Linked DNA regions of Homo sapiens: all the other regions are linked to region 5. The links are contacts of gene promoters, found by promoter capture Hi-C in blood cells and fetal thymus (Javierre and others, 2016). All regions are on one chromosome and are shown on one strand. Each heading gives the region's core, a stretch centred on a gene start or on the middle of the fragment in contact. The rest is flanking DNA. Distances are from core to core; before and after follow the strand shown.

Region 1 (2,700 bases), core at 18-2,517, 470 kb after region 5:
GCACAGGACTCATCTGCTCCCAGGAGATAAAGCAGTTCCCAGCAGAGGAGCCCAGGGCCCATGGCACAGTGGGGCAGGCAGCACTGCATCTGATTCAGGGCTTGGTCCTCCTGGGGAAGGGCCAAGTGAGTTCTGGGCCTTGATTTTCCTGATGGGTGGGGTATCCTGTGATGTCACTGTCCTGTGTCCTCCCTATAAATGCTTCCTGAGGTCCAGTACTCCCCACAACCTGAACTCCCTCCCTGTCCAGCAGAAGGGTTGGGTGAGGGCAGAAGCTTCTGTGATGAGACAGTTGCTCCTCTGCCTACACTGCTCCAGCTCCCAGGCTGCCCCATCACCCTCTCACCCTCCTCCCACCTAGTGCTGTCGTGCTCCATGCTGGAGCTCACACACCTGCCCATCAGCAGAGGGTGAGGAGCCTGTGATTAAACCTTCTTGTTCCAGCTCTCCCTGGCTGTCCTAATGTCATCTCTCTGACGCTAGATTCAACCAAATTTTCTAATTCTATTTTTTTGTCCTCAGAAAATATTTCCAGCCCCTCCCTTGAGTGGCCAGTGGTGCAAAGTCCCCAAGATTTAGTCTATCTGATCAGATCCAAAGCAGACCTTGGTTGTCTGTAAATTATTAAGAGTACAGATTCCCCAGAAATAATACTAGGGCTTTATCAGCTCACAGCACAGACCTAGCCAGACAGTTTGGGATTCAGCACCCTCAAGGCCATCTTATGCGTAGTGATCTGGATAATTTACGTTAATTTCTCCAGATCCACCCTGCCTTCAGAGGCTGACCTCAGTGTATTATGTTAACTGGCTCTCTTCTTCTCTAACTCCAGAGTGAGTTTGGCTAATGGGAGACAATGGCAGGAGAGTAGAGGGAGGTAGGGGCACCACTTGTTCTGATTCATCTATGCCCTGGCTATCCTCTTGCTTCATTATTTTATATAGGTTACTTTTCCCTACCAAAGTCCACAGCACCTTATAGGCAGCCTTGCCTTAGAGCTACAGTACCTGATGCTTTGGGATCCACATCCTCTCCTACTTATTTCAGGCCAATGTGAATAAGAGCCACAGATTCTGCTGTTCTTAGGCTACTTCTACTTCTCTTACTGGGTTCCCTTAACCCTGCCACACCTTTGCAAATACTCCTTTTGTCCCTCCTTGATATCTCCAGGACCACGACTAATAGACACAGCAATGGAAAGGTGAGTCCAGGTATTTTATTTTGCCTTAAGAGTCAACACAATTTCTAACATTCTGCCATTAGAAGTAATACAATTTCTAATATCCTGCAATGAGCATTGCTAAAAGAGTCAGGAGAACCATGAGAAATATGCATATGAAAATAAACCATGTGACAGGGGACATAGAATCCAAAGAGATTCCAGCAGAGAATCAAAGTGCACGCTCACCTACTCTGACCTCTCCCCATAAAAGATGAGAGTCATATACAAATAGATGCTTGTATTCTGTACAGTCCTATTTAGAAATGCACCACATAAAATAAGAATAAGACAGGAACACACTCATGACCACAAAAAATACAGAGAATGTGAGACGTGCTTCTTGCTGAGATACACAACAATCAAATTTAGTATCAAAGTGAGCTGGACTGATAAGAGGCTAAGACACAACTGAGGATCGATGGCTGAAAGAAAGCTATAGACAAAGAAAAAAATGCTCACTCGCTGTTGAAGTTATACCAAGAACCATGAACTGTCATCAGTCTCATATATTAGCCTTTCATTTTGACTTTCAGCAGATTGGCCAATTGGTGAATTCATTTTTTTGCCAAGCAAGCAACCAGCTCCCTTTTGCACCGGGATATGCGCTTCTCCCTTTAGGTGCTAAAGAGGACTACAGGCTACAGGAAAATAAAATGTGTGTTCTATATTATTTTATAATATTTTACAAGAAAAACAAGTTAAGGAACTCATGGATTCTAATCCAAGCCACAGTGATGGTAAGAATTAAGTTCCTTCCTTCATCTATCCTCAGAGGACCTCAAACAGGTACTCAGTAAGAGTCTTACAATCTCTTTGATAATTCTACTAGCTGATTATCTTCAGGTCTAATGGCAGAGTTTGTTGTATTTATTAACATTCTCCCTAACTGGATTGTTCTCTTGTGTGTTTATAACTTTATAACAAAAAAAATGGATTTTCTTGTCCTCCACAGAACACATGCTTGGTATCTAAAGGAACCAAAGCCAAGGTGATGTTATGTATGCTACCTGAGAATCCCAGATCACTCAAGCAGGCTAAAGCTTCCCAGCTGCTTTCTGCTTTTTTCTTCTCTCCTGAAAAGAAAGTGAAATATGAATTTCTTGTTAGAAGCTACCATTCCTTTGCACAATTACCAGAATATTCCAAATTGAGCAAAATAACATTACGTTGTTTGCATTTACACATCCGCACTACAGTGACAGACCCAGCTCACTCTAAGTTTTATGCTGCAGGAGCACACATAGAATGAGATCCCATTGCTGGGAAGTCTGGGAAGAGCTTCAGAAAGGGCAGCTTTTTCTTCTGGTTGAGACACGGGCTTCCATAAGGAGTGCCCACCTCCAGCCTGTGACTGCCCTTTTTGTGCAGAGGGCAGCTGGCTGTGCAGGGCTGCGGATGTGCTGCCACAGTGGTACAGATAGGTCTGGCTGGTGCTGGTGGATGCCAGGATTGGGGAAATGCTCAAGCTTGTTTCAAGA
Region 2 (2,709 bases), core at 79-2,578, 400 kb before region 5:
CCTGACCTCAGGTGATCCACCCATTTTGGCCTTCCAAAGTGCTGGGATTACAAATGTGAGCCACCACAGCCCACCTTGTTTTTTTTGAGACATGATCTCACTCTCGCTCAGACTGAAGTGCAGTGGTTCAATTTTGGCTCACTGCAACCTCTGCCCCCCAAGCTCAAGCAATTCTCCCACCTTGGCCTCCTGAGTAGCAGGGACTACAGGTGTATGTCACCACACCCAGCTAATTTTTGTTTTTTGTCGAGGTGGGGTTTCACCATGCTTCCCAGTCTGGTCTTGAATTCCTGGGCTCAAGTGATCCTCCCACCTCGGCCTCCCAAACTGCTGGGATTACAGGCATGAGCCACCATGCCCAGCTACATTTTTGTTTTTCTCCAGTAATCATAATTTTAAAGTGTCCAAGAGCTAATTCAGCGTGGTAATTTAAGGTTTCATTTCAAAGGTAGATCAATCACTTATTTTAAAAAGCTTTTTATATTTGGAAATGTTTTAGATTTATAGAAGACTTGTAAAGATAGTACAAGGTTTCTGAATACCCCTCATCCAGCTTTACCTAATGTGAAAATCTTACATAAGTATGATAATGATAAAAACCAATACATTAACATTGGTACATTACTTTTTTTTTTTTTTTTGAGCTGGAGTCTCACTCTGTTACCCAGGCCGGAGTGCAGTGGCGCAATCTTGGCTCACTGCGACCTCCGGCTCCCAGGTTCAAGCGATTCTTCTGCCTCAGTCTCCCAAGTAGCTGGGACTACAGGCGTGTGCCACCACGCTCAGCTAATTTTTTGTATTTTTTAGTAGAGACGGGGTTTCACCATATTGGACAGGCTGGTTTCCAACTCCTGATCTCGTGATCCCCCTGCCTCAGCCTCCCAAAGTGCTGGCATGAGCCACTGTGCCCAGCCTGGTACGTTACTATTAACTGAACTGCAGGTTTTGCTCAGATTTCACCAGTTTTTTCATTAGTGTTCTTTTTCTGTTCCAGGATCCAGTCCAGCATACATACAGAATTTTGTTGTCATGTCTCTTTATTCTTCCCATATCTATGAGAGTTTCTTGGCCTTTTCTAGTGTTTCATGACTTTGACACTTGTGAAGAGTATTGATCAGCTATTTTGTGGCATGTCCCTTCATTTGGGTTTGTCTGATATTTCCTCAGAGTAAGACTAAGGTTGTGGACTTTTGGGAAGATTACCACAGAGGTAAGGTGCCCTTCTTGAATCATGTCATGAGGTACAGGGATATCAACATGACTCATCACTGGTGGTGTTTACCTTGGTCACCTGGTTAAGGCGGAGCAACTGGAAAATTTCTGCACTGTAAAGTCACCATTTTTCCCTATCCAAACCCTAGTTTTTGGAAGGGAGTCAGTAAGTGCAGCCCATCCTGGGAGTGAGGGTTGAGTAGATTAAGTCCATCCACTGGAGGGAAGAATATTAAAGAAGTTGTGGATATACGTTAACACTACCATGGTAACTAATAAATATTTGGGGGAGATACTTTGAGGCTATGCAAATATCCAGTTGCTCCCTAAACTGTCACCCATCAGTTTTATTATTCATCAGTGGATCTTGCCTGCAGCAGTTGTTACTGTGGTGTTCTAATGGTGATTCTCTATTTCCTTAGTTTTTTTCATTTATTAATTGGAATTCTTTTGACAGGAGAGTTGTCCCTTCTTTCTATTTATTTATTTATTCAGTCAGTTATTTATATCAGTATGGACTCATGTATATTTACTTTAAGAATCACAGAATAATAAAACATTGATCTGAGTCCTTACAGTCTATCTCCACATACTATTACTGTTGTTATTATTATTATTTTTAGGTTGGGCCCTGTTGTGGATAAAATGGAGTAGAGACAACAAAAAGAAAAATATATTCACTTCTATGGGCTATCATCTTCCTATTGCTGAGAGGGGTATTTAGTGTTAAAAGAAAAACCTCAGACAATTTAAATTTAATGGAGTTTATTTGAGTAAAGAATGATTCTTGAATCAGGCAGTACTCAGAACCAGAAGAGGTTCCGAGAGCTCTGCAACTGTAAGCAATGAGTATTTATAAGCAGAACAGGAAGGTAAAGTACATAAATAGTTTGATTTGTTGCAGCTAAGTGTTTTGCTTGATTTAGACATGAGCCAGTCCGTTGGCTGCTTGCACTTAGCTGAAGCTTGGCTGCTTGTGATTGGCAAAGACCTGGTTATCTGTTATAAAAATGAAACTCCTAAGTTAAGTTTCAGTTTGTTTACATACTAAGTTAGGTTGCATTTTGTTTCATAGGAATTCAAAGCATGGAGACTGTCTCAGGTCAATAGCCTCCTGCTTACTTAATTTTACTCTAGATACTGATTAGAGCTATTGAAACAAGAAATAGTGGTATAAGTAAGTTATTTGAAGTGGGAAAAGCACTAAGTAGAGGAACAAAACATGATATAATTATCAAACATTGGAGGAGGCAGAGGAGAGGTGGTGTATGCGATCCAAATTCTCATCTTTCGTAGATGAGCCAATGGTATTATCTACATTTGAAAGCTCAGTAAATAGCGCTTTAATCATGTCATTTGGAATTAAATAATTGATACTGGAAATGCTTTAAGTTGCCTTTTCAAATAAATAAAAAATTGACTATTCAATAAATGATATTGGGACAACTGAGAGGTTTTTTTTTTTGTTTTTGTTTGTTTGTTTGTTTTTGTTTTTTT
Region 3 (2,700 bases), core at 80-2,579, 460 kb before region 5:
CCGTCTCTACTGAAAGTACAAAAATTTGCCAGGTATGGTGGCAGGTGCTTGTAATCCCAGCTACTCAGGAGGCTGAGGAAAGAGAATTGCTTGAACCCGGGAGGCGGAGGTCGCAGTGAGCCAAGATAGCACCACTGCACTCCAGCCTGGGAGACAGAGCGAGACTCCATCTCAAAAAAAAAAAAAAAAAAAAAAGTTCTGGCCAACTGCCCTCTAGACAAATTCTATCCTCTGTTATTCTCTGCATTCTTTGGAGGGAGAGGCACACTTACTTATTAACCATGACCTATCTTTTTCCATGACAATTTCACAACCTTTCCTTTAGTTGTGCCCATCCCCATTCCCCCTTTCCTAGGTGTTCATATCCCACCAATCCCACAGCGGGAGGCTGCTCATCCATAGACACTCCTAATTAGCCTGCATGCTTCTGTTGCTGGGATCACATCTCTGCCCTTTTCCAGGTGCCTAACACTTAATAGGTTCTTACTTGATCATCTTGCGACCTAAAAGCTTGTACATCTCTGCTCATTTTGACGTTGGTAGATCTTTGATCACTGATAAGCAATTCAGTCTGTTTTCTACACTTGCCCAATTCCTTTCTTCTGCCTTCTGCAGAAAGATTCATGTTTGTGTGTATTCTGCAGAGGGTCCCAGAGGCAGAAATCTGGCAGTGTCTACCTGTGGGTGAGGGTGTGGGAGACAGCTCCCAGCACACTGCAGTGTGGGCTCCTACGCAATCCACTCCACGTAGGTTATGTAAGCACGAGCTATTCATGCATGTGAGGCTCTGCTGTTTCCCCATATGATTTGGGTACTCTGTTGGTAAAGGTTGTATGAAAGTGCATGCATATCTCTCTAAGTGCATACTTAAGTGAGCCCAGACTTTCAAAGATTTTCATATTTTGAACACATCACCACGTACTTGTTTTTTAAGTTAAAAAAATGTAACACTGCTCCCTCTTTTCACCCAATTCCTCATTTTCACCAGTCTCTGGCACCACTGTCTCCCCTCATCCATGGCTCCCCTCTCCCCTTAGAGCACTTTACCTGTGTGGGGTGGACGTTGTGGCGGGGGCCTGCATCCTTCCGGAGCCTGTGCTGGAGGCCCCCATTCTCAGAGGGCAGTCCGTAGCTGGTGCAGTGTTCAAAGGGCATATACTGGTACTGGGGGTCACTACCCCACCAGCTTTGTTCACCCCCACGCTGCTGTGACCGGGATTGCTCCATATTCCCTCCCCCCGAGCCCCGGCCAGGCCTTGGCCTGCTTGCCCCTGTCCTTCCCCCAGTGTAGCTCCTTAAGCCTCTGCTCTTGCTGTCCCCAAGGCGTCTGGGGCAGCATGCCCACCTCCAGCTATTTATAGACCCCTCTCCGTCACATGACCCCCCACTGCCACATCTGATCTGCTTGGGGTCGAAGCAGGTGTGAGTGCAGTGTGGGGGTGGGGGTTGGGATGAGAACCTGAGGGACAGCCCCACAGGGAATTCCCTCTGCTGAGCCAGTGGCATTGTCCCCCTTCTTAGTCACCAGTAGTAGGCTTCCAGCTCCATGTCACTGGTCCCTCTATAAATATCGCCTGGACCAGGATGAGAAACTGCTGAGTATGCTCTCAAACCTATGTGTAGAGCCGGATCTGCATGGAAGCCCTCCAGTTGCCCATCTCTCTTCTTCAGGATGCGGAAGGTGAGGGGTGGGTGCTGGATAAAGATGAAGCGACTCGAAGTTCTGGAAACACTGGCACATTAACTCACCTGGGAAAGTAACTGGTGCCTCTCTGCCACATCTCCTGGCCAGCTTGTTCCCAACTCTGTGTCCACCCAGGGTTCTGTCTGGCCAGCTCTGCCAGCCCATCCCATGTCCAGCGTTCTTCTCTAGCTCTTTGCCCTTCTGTCTGCCAGAGGCTGCTAATAACAGCTTGGGGGCATCCCCTGATCCCATCCTTATCACTCACTGGGTGTGGAACACTTATGGGAAGTGGGAAGTCGAGGGTCGGTAATAGCCTTGGGTTCTAGAATTTCTCCCACTTCCCAGACTGTTAGGTGTCAGCCACACTGCCAACCCGGAGGGACTGAGCTTCCATTTGGACTGTGGAGTGCCCACACTGGCTCCATCAGATAGATAACAAGGGAGATAACAGGGGAGAATCGAAAGTAGAAAGAGGCACAGGGAAGGGAGAGGTGGGAAAGGGGTGAGGGCTTCTCATGACAAGCCCGACAAACATGAAAGATGATGGGGAAGTGCTCTCTGCTATTCTTCCCTTTTCAGGTCAATAAATACTTTTTTGGCCAAGGACAAACTTTTCTTCCTGGCATCACGTTATAAAACCAATTTTCCTATGACATGTCTTCCCTATGAACTCTTCACTGTAGGAGAAAAGATATGAACTGAGCCAAAGTAAAGTTTAGGATGCATTACCAAGTGGGGTCTGTCCCAGGACAGTCCAAGTTCAGGGACTGCAGGGTAGGGACACCAAACATCTGGTCTACAATGTGATTTTGACCTAGGCTAAATGGAACCACCCAAAGCAGGAGGGAAGCCAATATCATTAAAAGTACTTTTTCTAGGGCCTCAACATCATTAATCATCAGGAAACCAAAATCATAATGCAATATCGCCTCATACCTGTTAGGATGGCTATTATCAAAAAAGCAAGAGATAGCCATTATTATGGCTATGGATATTATGGTTCATGCTTATAATCC
Region 4 (2,717 bases), core at 71-2,570, 490 kb after region 5:
GTATGACTTGAGTACATGGAATCTAAAGAGGTTCTAGTAGAGAATCATGATGCATGCTCACCTCCTCTTACCTAGAAGTCTGTGGCAGGGTGGATCTACTTCATAAACATAGTGGACACTGTGATGCTTCATTGAGAACCCATTTTCAGACCCATTGCCACATCCCTTTAGAGTTGAGCCCCACACTGGGTTCCCGTCCACAAGAACCATCTTCACTCAAGGTGACACCTTCACACAGTAGAAAAACTGTGTTAATTGCAGAGATGCAAGGTCCAGCATGTCCTAACAAGATGTGCCTTTGGCTTAAGAGGCAAGAAGAGAAGAATTAGGGACTGGAAAAAAGTCTTAAATATTTGAAACAATATTTGAGGAGGGTGAAAGACTGAGCTAGTAAAAGGACCATACTATAATCTCAAAGCAGGGATATAAAGGCAGGTAAGCTTAGTGACTATGTATTTATCATGATAACAGTTTGTGCCGGTGTGACTTACTCTGACAGCATTCAGCTTCTGCCATGCCAAAGAGATCAGTGCATTTATTCTTGTTTATTTTTGTAAATGAAAGGGAAGCCTAAGAGTATCAATATAAAATAATAACTATTTGCAAGCTAGGATTTTTAACACGTAACATCCTCATATCTGCTCTAGAATGAGTAAAGAAATTCTGTAGGGACCCTAGGAAATAGAAAGAATATTTACCAGTGGAGAGGAGATGTCAATAATATCAAAGAACAGGTATGATAGGATAAGAAGCTGTAGGCAGATAGTGGAATATTTAATTTGTGATTTTGGAGATTTAGCATTTTCAAGTGATGACAAAGAAAAAGGGATGGGGCTACTAATGAGGAGGAGTAGAGTAAGTAACAGAATGGAACAACTCATAATTCTGTTATAGGCAAGATATCCTTGAAATGCAAAGAGTAGTCACTGTAAAAGGAAAAATATATATGAATTAAACTTCAAAAAATAGAAAATTTCAGTTCATGAGAAGACTCTATTCAGAAAGTACAAAGGCAGGCCACTCTGGGAGAAGACTAACTCAATATATTTAATGGTCAAAAGGTTTATATAAAAAATACAAACATATTATACGTATTAGTAATATAAGAACAAACAACGTAAGATTTTAAAACAGGCAAATTTAAAAGCAGACACTTGAAAAAAGGAGATAGAAATTACTAATGAAAACAGAAAAAAATGTAAATATAATTACTTATAGAAAAATGCATAGAGATATCACTACAGACCCAATAGAATGATTAAGAAGAAGGTAGAACATGATGGCCAAATAGAAGCCTTCGTTAACTGTTCCTCCAAACAAGAACATCAAACTGAACAACTATCCACACAAAATAGCACCTTCATAAGAACCAAAAATCAACTAAGTGACCACAGTACCTGGTTTTAACTTCATATCACTGAAAGAGGCACTAAAGAGGTAGAAAAGACACTCTTGAATTGCCAATACCATGCCTCCCCCATCCCCTGGCAGTGGCCATATGGCTTGGAGAGACAGTCTGTGCATTTGGGTTAGGGAGAGTGCAGTGACTGTGGGACTTTGTGTTGGAAGTCGTTGCTGTCCTCACACAGTGGATAGCAACAGCAGGCAGGACTCAGCCAGCACTCATGGAAGAACATTTAGACCAGCCCTAGTCAGAGGGGAATCACTTATCCCAGCAGTCAGAACCTGAGTTCTGGCTAGCCTCGCTACCATGGGCTAAAGTGCCTTAGGGTCCTAAATAAACTTGAAACACAGTCCAGGCCACAAGGACTACAATTCCTGGGCAAGTCTTGGTGCTGTGCTGAACTCAGAGTCAGTGGACTTGGGGACACATGACCTAGTGAGATACCAGCTGGGGTGGCCAAGAAATTGCTTATGCCACCCCATCCCCAACCTCAGGCAGCACAGCCCACAGCTCCAGGTGAGACTCCTTTGGATATAGTTTGGATATTTGTCCCCACCCAAATCTCATGTTGAATTGTAATCCCCATGCTGGTGAGGGGTGTTTGTATCACGGGGGCAGATCCCTTATGGCTTGATGCTGTCCTCAGAATAGAGAATGAATTATTGTGAGATCTGGTCATTTAAAAGTATGTTTTAAATGACCTTCCCTCCCTCCCCCACACACTCTCTTTCTCTCTCTTGTTCCTGTTTTCACCATGTAATGTGCCTGCCTCCCCTTTTCTTTCTTCCATGATTGTAAGCTTTTGAGACTACACCAGAAGCAGATGCTGGTGTTATGCCTTCTGTACGGCCTGAAAAACCATGAGCCTATTAAACCATTTTTCTTGTAAATGACCTAGTCTCAGGTATTTCTTTACAGCAATGCAAGAATGGCCTAATTCAGAAAATTGATACAAGAAGTTGGGTATTGTTATAAAAATAACTGAAAATGTGTAAGCAGCTTTGGAACTGGGTAATGGGCAAAAGTTGGAAGAGTTTAGAGGGCTCAGAAGAAGACAGGAATATGATGGAAAGTTTGGAATTTCTGAGAGACTGGTTAAATGGTTGTGACCAAAATGCTGATAGTGATATGGAAAGTGAAGTCCAGGCTGTTGAGGTCTTAGATGGAAATGAGAAACTTATTGGGAACTGGGGCAAAGGTCACACATGTTATGCCTTAGCAAAGAACTTGGGTGCATTTTGCCTCTGCCCTAGGAATCTGTGGAAGTTTGAACTTGCGAGTGATGACCTAGTGTATCTGGTGGAAGAAATTT
Region 5 (2,748 bases), core at 155-2,654:
TGGTAACTCAGTGTCATTGCCAACCATCTTTTTGCACCCTGAATGGAGTAATAGACTCCAAACAAGTCCTCCTTCTGAGGCCACCAGGTAAGTACATAGACACCCCCACGCTAATCTTCCTTTGAGAAAAAAGGCCCACTGCTCTGAAAAGCCAAGTGGCCCCACTGAGCAGCACTCAGAAGCCTCAATGCTCCAATGCCCCTTACTTGGGCAGCTTCTGTGGTCTACTAACAGCCCCACACAGCTCCCTCCCACTGGTCTCTCAGCTCAGGACCAGCATCTCCCCTCCTAGAGCCTCAGTCAAGTTCCCCTGGCGGGCGGAGGGCCTGGGTTAACTGGGAACAGACCCAGCAGCTCCGCTCCATGGGCGCTGCCAGGGACATTACAACATTGCTATGCTGGGTCCATGCCAGCTCCCCCAGGGATGGGAGGAGAGAGGGTGCCAGACGGCCAAGATCGGTGGGTGGGGGTGTGGGGCAAGCAGGGCCAAGCACCCAGATGGAGGGAGCAGAGCGAGGGTGGAGCTGGGGCAGGAGCACGCAATAGAATTTGGTTGCACGTTGGGGGTGATGGCTGGGCAGCAGGAACCAAGCGTTCCTTCCACCTCCAAGGCTTAACTGTGGTCATGGAGCTGGGGGGGACAGTGCCTTGTGGGGAGCAGGGGACAGGTGTGTGGTCAGCCTCCTGACTCCTCCCAGCTCCAAGGGGATTGGAGTGATGCCACTGGAGTCAGAGGGGTGGCAATCCTGTTCCAAGCGTGGAGCTCCGTCTCTGCGAGGACCCTCCCAGATTAGGACTCCCAAGCCAGAGCCAGAGGAGAATGTCTGGGAACGCAACTGGGGGATCCTAACAGCAAGGGTAATGCGGTGTCAATGATGCCAGGTCAGAGTGGAGTGAGAGGGGAGTAGCCAGGTTGACCGTTTCCTCACCCTTCATGAACCCCACTCTGGCCTTGAGGAAGGATCCTCAGTACTCCCTCAGGAAGCCACCTAGGGGCTGAGGAGCCCCACTACTCTTGCAAACCTTAATTCCTCTGTCCCCAAGCATACTGTCCCCGACCCCCACAACGCCGCCTGCTAACCCCGCGGGCTCACCTTCCCGTTGGCCGCAGTCTCTGCAGGTCTGCGCCCCCCGAGGCCTCGCAGTGGACCCGGGGCTCCTGGAGCTCGCACGGTGCCACCCGCGTCTTCTCCAGTCCGGGGACCCCGTTGCACCCGGCCCGGGTCCGTTCGGCGCCGAGAGTCCCTGGGATTCCGGGGTGGACCTGACGCTGGCGGCAGGGGCTGCTCCAGAGGTGGGGCGCCGGGAGATCCTGGGGGCCCGCGTCGAGATCGCCGTCGCCAAGCTGGGTCCCGGGTCCCGCCGCCCGCTGCTGTAGAGCCGCGGCTGGAGCGAACGCAGCCCGGCCCGCCCCCTCCGCGTCCCCTCCCAAGCCGGCCCGGCCCGCCCCTTCAGCCCCTTTGGCCGCCTTCCCACTCCCTTCTTCCGGGGAGCCGAGCCCGCCCTCCCGGCCTAGGCGGTGAGTGCGCGGCGCCCGCTCCTCCGCCCCGGCGCGCGGGGGAGACGCGGGGCGCGCCCGGGGCCCCGCCTGTGCGCCGGGAAGGGGGCGGCCTCCTCCCGCGGGTCTTGGCCGGGAGGATCGCACGCGTGGGGCGCCTGCAGGAAGTGGGAAGGGAAGAGGCTGTCTGTAAAGCCCCTGCCTGGGCTCGGGCTCGGGCTCGGCTTGGGTCGGACACCCGCGGAGCGAAGCGCAACTGGCGGACCGTGGCAGTTCAGGGCAGGGCAGAGCCCTGCACACACCCCCTCGCGCCTCCCTCCTCTTCGGCTTTAACTCTAGGAACTAAAACAGTGGGGCTCCTACTCAGCTTGGAACTAAGGTGGGCGTGAGCTGAGCAAGAGAGAAGGAAGGAAAAGCAGGGGGTGGAGGGAAAGACAAACTGAGAAATCTGGGAGAGTACGGGCGGTGGTAGGGGGAGCCGAGGCAGCGGGAGAGGGGGGCGTCTCGGTATGAAAGCGTCGCCGTGCTAGCCGGGAACTCTTTTCTCTTTTCGTGTCTGGATCTTGGTCAACGTTGGGGCTTCTGAGTCGAACCTCCCTCCATCTACCCTCCCCAAGGGGCAGGGCAGTCGGGTTGAAAAGGGGAAGCGCTGCTGTACGCCTGGCTCTGACATGGCTTGGGCAAGTCGCTGCACCTCTGGGTGCCTCCTCCCTCGCCCGCGCTCCGGAGAGAACCTCCCTGCAGTGAGGAGGGGCGGTGCAAGGTGCTCTCAGCTGGCGCCTGGAGGCAGGGTTGAGGAACCGAGGGGGCGCCGCGAGGAAAAGTGTTTCCGCCCACCTCTAACCCCTTCTCTAGCCGAGGACGGGGATTTGGGGTCTATTGTTTGGGTCCTACAGAGCTGGGCTGGGGCCTTGCCACGAAGTGTTGCTACCACCTGCTGGTTTTTCTAGGGAGCACAAGCACCCGGTGCGATTCCCTTTGCCCCCTTTTCTCCCTGTATCGCCCTGTCCCATCTTGCTCTCCTGTTTATTAAAGCAAATGGGCTGATCAAAACTGGTACTTAAAGAGCATTCAGAAGCCGAAGAAAATTGTGAAAGAGATCTATGAGCCAACAAACACAATAAACAAAACAATGAAACTCAGTAAGAGTCACCTGGGAGAGACAAACAGGCTTTAATGAATTGACTGAATGAGTGATAGAAAGATAAAGGCTACCGAGCAAGTTCCCACTTGGCCAGGGGTTTGTTCAC
Region 6 (2,772 bases), core at 268-2,767, 440 kb before region 5:
TTGCCCCTTTATGCCCAGCAGACTTCTCAGGAAAGCATATAAACTACCTGAATACTTGATGACTGAAGCAGCTGTTGCTGCCATGGCTTTGAAGCAAGGGTGGATTTAACTACATTGCATATGCTACAAGGGGGAAGCTGGCAAAAATAGCATGTAAAGGACAACACCCAGGTACCTGTGGATGAAACTGGCCTTGCCAAAAATATAGTAAATACATAATTACTCTCACAGAAGGAGGGCAGCTAAGAAAGAGAAATGAAGACTACAGACAATGCTGAATGGAAAACAAAGATCCTCTATCCCAACAGATCAAAGTGAATCTCCTAGCAATTTTAATTTCACCACTGACAACCTCAAAGCAAGTTGAAGAAAGTTCTACTATTCTGGAATCAAAATAAAGAGTGAATATGAATCTACAAATAGGCCATTATTGATTGCAAAATAGAAACCCTAAAGGTCACAAAGTCAGTTGTGCAGTACAGTAACTGAGGTTAATGACGAACAGCCCATAATGAAAATGTTTACAATTTCTAGAAATCTGGTCCACAAACAATCTACCCTATGACTTGTGATTACACAAATGTTAAGAATACTTTCCCAGCCAGGTGCCGTAGCTCATGCCTATAATCCCAGCACTTTGGGAGGCCGAGGGGGACGGATCACCTGAGGTCAGGAGTTTGAGACCAGCCTGGCCAACATGGCAAAACCCCGTCTCTACTAAAAATACAACAATAAGCCAGGTATGGTTGCATGCGCCTGCAGTTCCAGCTACTCAGGAAGCTGAGGCAGGAGAATCGCTTGAACCTGGTAGGCAGAGGTTGCAGTGAGCCGAGATCGTGCCATTGCACTCCAGCCTGGGTGACAGAGCTAAACTCTGTCTTTAAAAAAAAAAAAAAAAGTGAGACACCAACTGTGGACTATTATTACTTTATGAAACCACAACCTGAGATGTCAACACTAAAATGGCTGGCCGGCCCTAATTCTTTCTTACTAGAATGCAAGGTGAGAGGCAGAACAGAGTGAGTAAAAATGTAAGTAGAATAAACCAACTTTTAAGACATATCCCAGCAGGCACAGGAACAAACGATGTCTCTGGTCCCAAAGTGTTGTTCAGTCCTCTAATTTACATGTCAATTTTTCCCACCTCAGGTACCTGTGCAGTCTGGTCACATAGAACATGGACGTCATAGCCCAAAAGCTTGAAGAGGGTGACTAGAGTACTGTGGTCCACATCCCCTCCAGAGCGAAATTCCAGTTCTTTCTCTCCAGTGAAGTGCACATTGCTCAACACCAGTGCTAGGCCACGAGGCCGAGACTGCAACCTATATGCCTGTGGAGGAGAGGCCAGTTAGACCATGAGCGTCTTGATAACAGATGATTCCTCGGCTAGATTAGACATTTCAAGAAAACAAAGACATCGTATTTTTCTTCTTAACCTCCAGCAGGTAAAAATAGACAAATGCTCACAGAAGGCATTTAACCAGTAACAACTTTCTGACTAATAAGGCAGAAAGGAAATGTACATGCAAACTAAGTTCAGGTTCCCAGGAAGGGTGTCTAATTTCCCAACTCTCTTCCTCTTGTCATTATGCAAAAACTCACCAGCTGGAAGTGTGTTTGATAAAATTCAGGAGTGCAAGGCTTCACCTGAAGGCAGACAGGACCATCTTTATTGTCTAGGGAGTGTTCCACAGTATCTGTGGTATAGACAGAAAACCAAAAAACTAGTATATAACTTAACCATCAATCTTAATATGTCATTGTAACTTCAGACATCTCTTGCAACTGGGTTGTGATAAATATTGGTCTCACTCACTACCCAAACCTGTAAGCTTCATGAGGGCAGAGACTCTTAGTTTTAGCTCACTAAAGGATTCTCTGCACATAGCCTGCATGAAGCATATGCTCAACTGGCTGAATGACCGAATGGGCTAGCTGATAAAAGCCTCGTTCCAATCACTAGGATGCTCCATCAGCAGGCTGGTGGCCCCAAATGTAGTCTTTTCTTATTCAGCTTTTTAGAGGCCAATTGAGCATGAACTTCCTGCCCATACATGCTACTCAAAGGCCCAATTATCACAAAAACTGTTATCTGGGGTGGAAGGGAAATGGACCAACTATTAATAACACCTTGCCTGGGCCGGGCGCAGTGACTCATGCCTGTAATCCCAACACTTTGGGAGGCCGAGGCAGGCAGATCACGAGGTCAGGAGATGGTGAAACCCCATCTCTTACTAAAAACACAAAAAATTAGCTGGGTATGGTGGCACGCACCTGTAATCCTAGCTACTCAGGAGGCTGAGGCAGGAGAATCACTTGAACCCAGGAGGCAGAGTTTGCAGTGAGCCGAGACTGCACCATTGCACTACAGCCTGGACGACAGAGCAAGACTCCATCACAAGAAAAAAAAAAAACAAAAAACCACAAACTCCTGCATAAACTGTCCTACTAGCCCTTAACAAATTTACTGACAACTGTTCCCAATATAAACTATGTCTCAGCTGGGCATGGTGGCTTACGCCTATAATCCCAGCACTTTGGGAGGCCAAGGCGGAAGGATCATTTGAGGCCAGAAGTTTGACACCAGCCTGGGTAACAAAGTGAGACTCCTTCTCTACAAAAAATTTAAAAATGAGCTAGGTGTGGTGGCATGCACCTGTAATCCCAGGTACTTGGGAGGCTGAGGCAGGAGGAGCCCTTCAACCCAGGAGTTCAACGCTGCAGTGAGCTATGGTGGTGTCACTGCATTCCAGCCTGGGTGACAGAACAAGA
Region 7 (2,700 bases), core at 1-2,500, 490 kb before region 5:
CTTCCCAGGTACCTCACCCTCTCTTCTACCCTCCTAAATCACCCTCTGCTCCCACTCCCTGGGACAGTAACAAGGAGAATTGATGAATAAGAACCCTGTCCTCCCTCAATCCCCCAGCCTCACCCCCCACCCCACCCCGCATAGGAATTGCATGCAGGTCAAGGTCAGGTCCTAGTGACCAGAGAGAACCCACAAGGGGTGAGTTGGGGTGCATGAGGGAAGAGCGTCACCTGCAGGCTCTGGTGCTTCCGGCTGCTGTTTGTGGCCAGGCAGAGGCCCATTGGGCTCTTCTGGGGACAGAGGGGCAGTAGTAGAGGGGTGGAGAGCAAGGGAAGGAGGAAGCTGTAAGGAAGAGTAAGAAGTCTCAGCCTGGGAGCAGAGACTGCCTGGGCCTTCACTGCCTTTACCAGTTGGTGGATGTTCTGGGAAAGCGAACTCTATTCTTCCCCCCAGTTCAGAAATTCCTATATCCCTTTGAATTGTCGAGGATACCATCATCTGCAACCTTATCTTCTTTAGTCCCTGGACCCAGAGGCACTGGTCTCTATGGTACCTGATCCAGAATTTCTGGCTTTCTCAGTTACCAGACTCTCCCCTCCCTCTTCCCACTACTTTCAGGGAAACTACGCCTGTCCCAGCCCAGCCCAGCCCAGCCCAGACGACGCTTTTCCCTTTGCTCCTGATCTATCCCACTCCCTAGCCCTTCCCGGCGCGGTCACCTCGCTCTTGCCAGAGAGGTCTTCGTCCTCATCCTCATCCACAAAGGCGAAGGACTCGGGCCGGCCTGGAGGCGCGCCGGGGAGCCCCTCCCCAGCCAGCCGCGCCTTCCCGTCGTAAGGCAGCTCCGACAACTTCCGCGCCATCTCTTGGGCTGCGCGCAGCCTGCGCTCAGGACACAGGTGGCGCTGCAGGAGGGCCTGCAGTTCCGACCGCTCCACCGAGCCCAGCAGGATCATTGAATCTGAGGGAAACCCACGCCCTGCCTGAGCGCCCCCTCCAAGCCCTCTCGCACCACCGCGCTCCGCACTCCTGAGAAGGAACAGGAGAGGCGCCACCCTGCCCGGCGTCCCCACATCTTTCTCAGCTTCCTGGAAACTCATTTTAAGAATCCTCCAAGATTAACCTCACTCAATCCCTTTTATTTCATCCATTTAGCAGGTACGGGGCCAATTGGTAGAGCACTAATTGGGCTAATTTGTACTTATTTTGATGAGGCCTTATATAGACTTCAGATAGGTGAGCTGATAATTAAGGAGGCTAATCAATGCTGTCCAAATAAAAAGAAACATGAGAAGCCATTCAAATAAGCTGAGACGTGAACACGCTTTGAAAGAAGTCTATAAGCAATACAAACATTATATCTCTCCCTGGAAAAAGGGAAACAAGGGAACTCTTTCTTTTGTATCTGACATTTCATCATTTAAAAAACCTGGGCCAGGCGGTGGCTCACGCCTGTAATCCCACTACTTTGGAAGGCCGAGGCAGGCGGGTCGCCTGAGGTCAGGAGTTCGAGACCAGCCTTGGCCAACATGGTGAAACCCCGTCTCTACCAAAAATAAAAAAATTAGCTGGGCGTGGTGGCAGGCGCCTGTAATCCCAGCTACTTGGGAGGCTGAGGCAGGAGAATCGCTTGAACCCGGGAGGCAGAGGTTGCAGTGAGCTGAGATCGCACCACTGCACTCCAACCTGGGCGACAAGAGCGAGATTTCATTAAAAAAAAAAAAAAAAAACCCTGCTAGGATAAATCAAAATGCCTACTTTTCCTGAGAAGGTCTTTTATATGATTATAGAAATTTTGCTACTATAGTTAACATTTTTATTAAGTTTTAAGGCCAAGACATTGCAGCAGTGCTCTGGAGATGAATTTTACTGTTAGGTCTCAGTCATTATTATGAAAACCTTGCCCCTCATTTGTTGGCTGTACCCCTCCTCTAATAAAGAGCCTCTGCTGTAGAACGTGGAATGTATATGAGATTTGGGAAAATATTTGAATTAATTTAATTTGAGAAATTTGGATATTCTGATTATTGGAAATCAGAACTAACAATCTTAATGACTCCAAATGGCCCTACATGATTTTTCTTTATTACACTAATTCAAACACTAGGAAATTATTCATTTAATATCTAGTAGATACCTATAACAAGGCACTCTGGGTATATAGAATTCATAGCCTCTATTCTCAAGGAATGCCCACCTAGTTAGGAAGACAAGATATAGATATATAAACCACAATAAGAAATCATACAAAGCAGGATGAAGTGTCAAATGATGGTGAAGGCAGAGAAATGTGAAATTATCGTTTACTAACAACCATTCACTCCTCCATGTGAAACAGTTCCAGCCGGGCACAGTGGCTCATGCCTGTAATCCCAGCACTTTGGGAGGCCAAGGCTGGTGGATCGCCTGAGGTCAGGAGTTCGAGACCAGCCTGGCCAACATGGTGAAACCCCGTCTCTACTAAAAATACAAAATTAGCTGGGCATGGTGGTGCATTCCTGTAATCCCAGCTACTCAGGAGCCTAAGGCAGGAGAATCACTTAGAACCCAGGAGACAGAGGTTGCAGTGAGCCAAGATGGCGCCATTGCACTCCTGCCTGGGCAACAGAGTGAGGCTCTGTCGAAAAGAAAGAAGAGAAAAGAAAAGAAAAGAGAGAGAGAGAAAGAGAGAGGGAAAGAGGGAGGGAGAGAGAAAGAGAG

What was found. The method cuts DNA at HindIII sites, captures the fragments that hold promoters and counts their contacts. A CHiCAGO score of 5 or more calls a contact.
Region 1: a contact is called between a fragment that was not itself captured here and the fragment with the promoter of EPHB6 in region 5, in 1 of 17 cell types (naive CD4 T cells). The highest score is 5.1, in naive CD4 T cells.
Region 2: a fragment that was not itself captured here is called in contact with the fragment with the promoter of EPHB6 in region 5 in 1 of 17 cell types (erythroblasts); the score reaches 6.9 in erythroblasts.
Region 3: the fragment with the promoter of CLCN1 here is called in contact with the fragment with the promoter of EPHB6 in region 5 in 6 of 17 cell types (neutrophils, M0 macrophages, M1 macrophages and 3 more); the score reaches 9.6 in neutrophils.
Region 4: a fragment that was not itself captured here is called in contact with the fragment with the promoter of EPHB6 in region 5 in 1 of 17 cell types (fetal thymus); the score reaches 5.2 in fetal thymus.
Region 6: a contact is called between a fragment that was not itself captured here and the fragment with the promoter of EPHB6 in region 5, in 3 of 17 cell types (erythroblasts, naive B cells and total B cells). The highest score is 7.5, in erythroblasts.
Region 7: a contact is called between a fragment that was not itself captured here and the fragment with the promoter of EPHB6 in region 5, in 2 of 17 cell types (neutrophils and non-activated CD4 T cells). The highest score is 6.4, in neutrophils.

Annotation. Positions count from the first base shown.
Region 1 is chr7:142,386,564-142,389,263 of GRCh38, reverse strand. It overlaps TRB, the pseudogene TRBV8-2 and the pseudogene TRBV5-3. Among named protein-coding and RNA genes, the nearest start is that of MIR11400, 87 kb to the left of the region's middle. The HindIII fragment of the contact is 1,987 bases long and covers 274-2,260 here.
Region 2 is chr7:143,258,528-143,261,236 of GRCh38, reverse strand. The region is part of intron 2 of TMEM139-AS1 (TMEM139 antisense RNA 1); the gene reads left to right. The region is part of intron 2 of LOC105375546 (a long non-coding RNA gene); the gene reads right to left. Among named protein-coding and RNA genes, the nearest start is that of GSTK1, 3.6 kb to the left of the region's middle. The HindIII fragment of the contact is 1,703 bases long and covers 477-2,179 here.
Region 3 is chr7:143,314,740-143,317,439 of GRCh38, reverse strand. It overlaps CLCN1 (chloride voltage-gated channel 1), which reads right to left and starts at 1,329. Exons shown (of 23, transcript NM_000083.3): 1 at 1,048-1,329. The coding sequence starts at 1,227. The HindIII fragment of the contact is 3,265 bases long and covers 513-2,700 here.
Region 4 is chr7:142,368,442-142,371,158 of GRCh38, reverse strand. It overlaps TRB. Among named protein-coding and RNA genes, the nearest start is that of MIR11400, 100 kb to the left of the region's middle. The HindIII fragment of the contact is 1,764 bases long and covers 439-2,202 here.
Region 5 is chr7:142,853,732-142,856,479 of GRCh38, reverse strand. It overlaps EPHB6 (EPH receptor B6), which reads right to left and starts at 1,404. Exons shown (of 20, transcript NM_004445.6): 1 at 1,095-1,404. The HindIII fragment of the contact is 5,828 bases long and covers 1-2,748 here.
Region 6 is chr7:143,293,155-143,295,926 of GRCh38, reverse strand. It overlaps CASP2 (caspase 2), which reads right to left. Exons shown (of 11, transcript NM_032982.4): 5 at 1,603-1,697; 6 at 1,154-1,330. Among named protein-coding and RNA genes, the nearest start is that of CASP2, 6.2 kb to the right of the region's middle. The HindIII fragment of the contact is 634 bases long and covers 1,201-1,834 here.
Region 7 is chr7:143,343,782-143,346,481 of GRCh38, reverse strand. CLCN1 (chloride voltage-gated channel 1) reads right to left here. Exons shown (of 23, transcript NM_000083.3): 17 at 720-961; 18 at 231-342. Among named protein-coding and RNA genes, the nearest start is that of FAM131B-AS1, 17 kb to the left of the region's middle. RefSeq lists silencers at 886-965, 772-1,066. The HindIII fragment of the contact is 4,049 bases long and covers 1-2,700 here.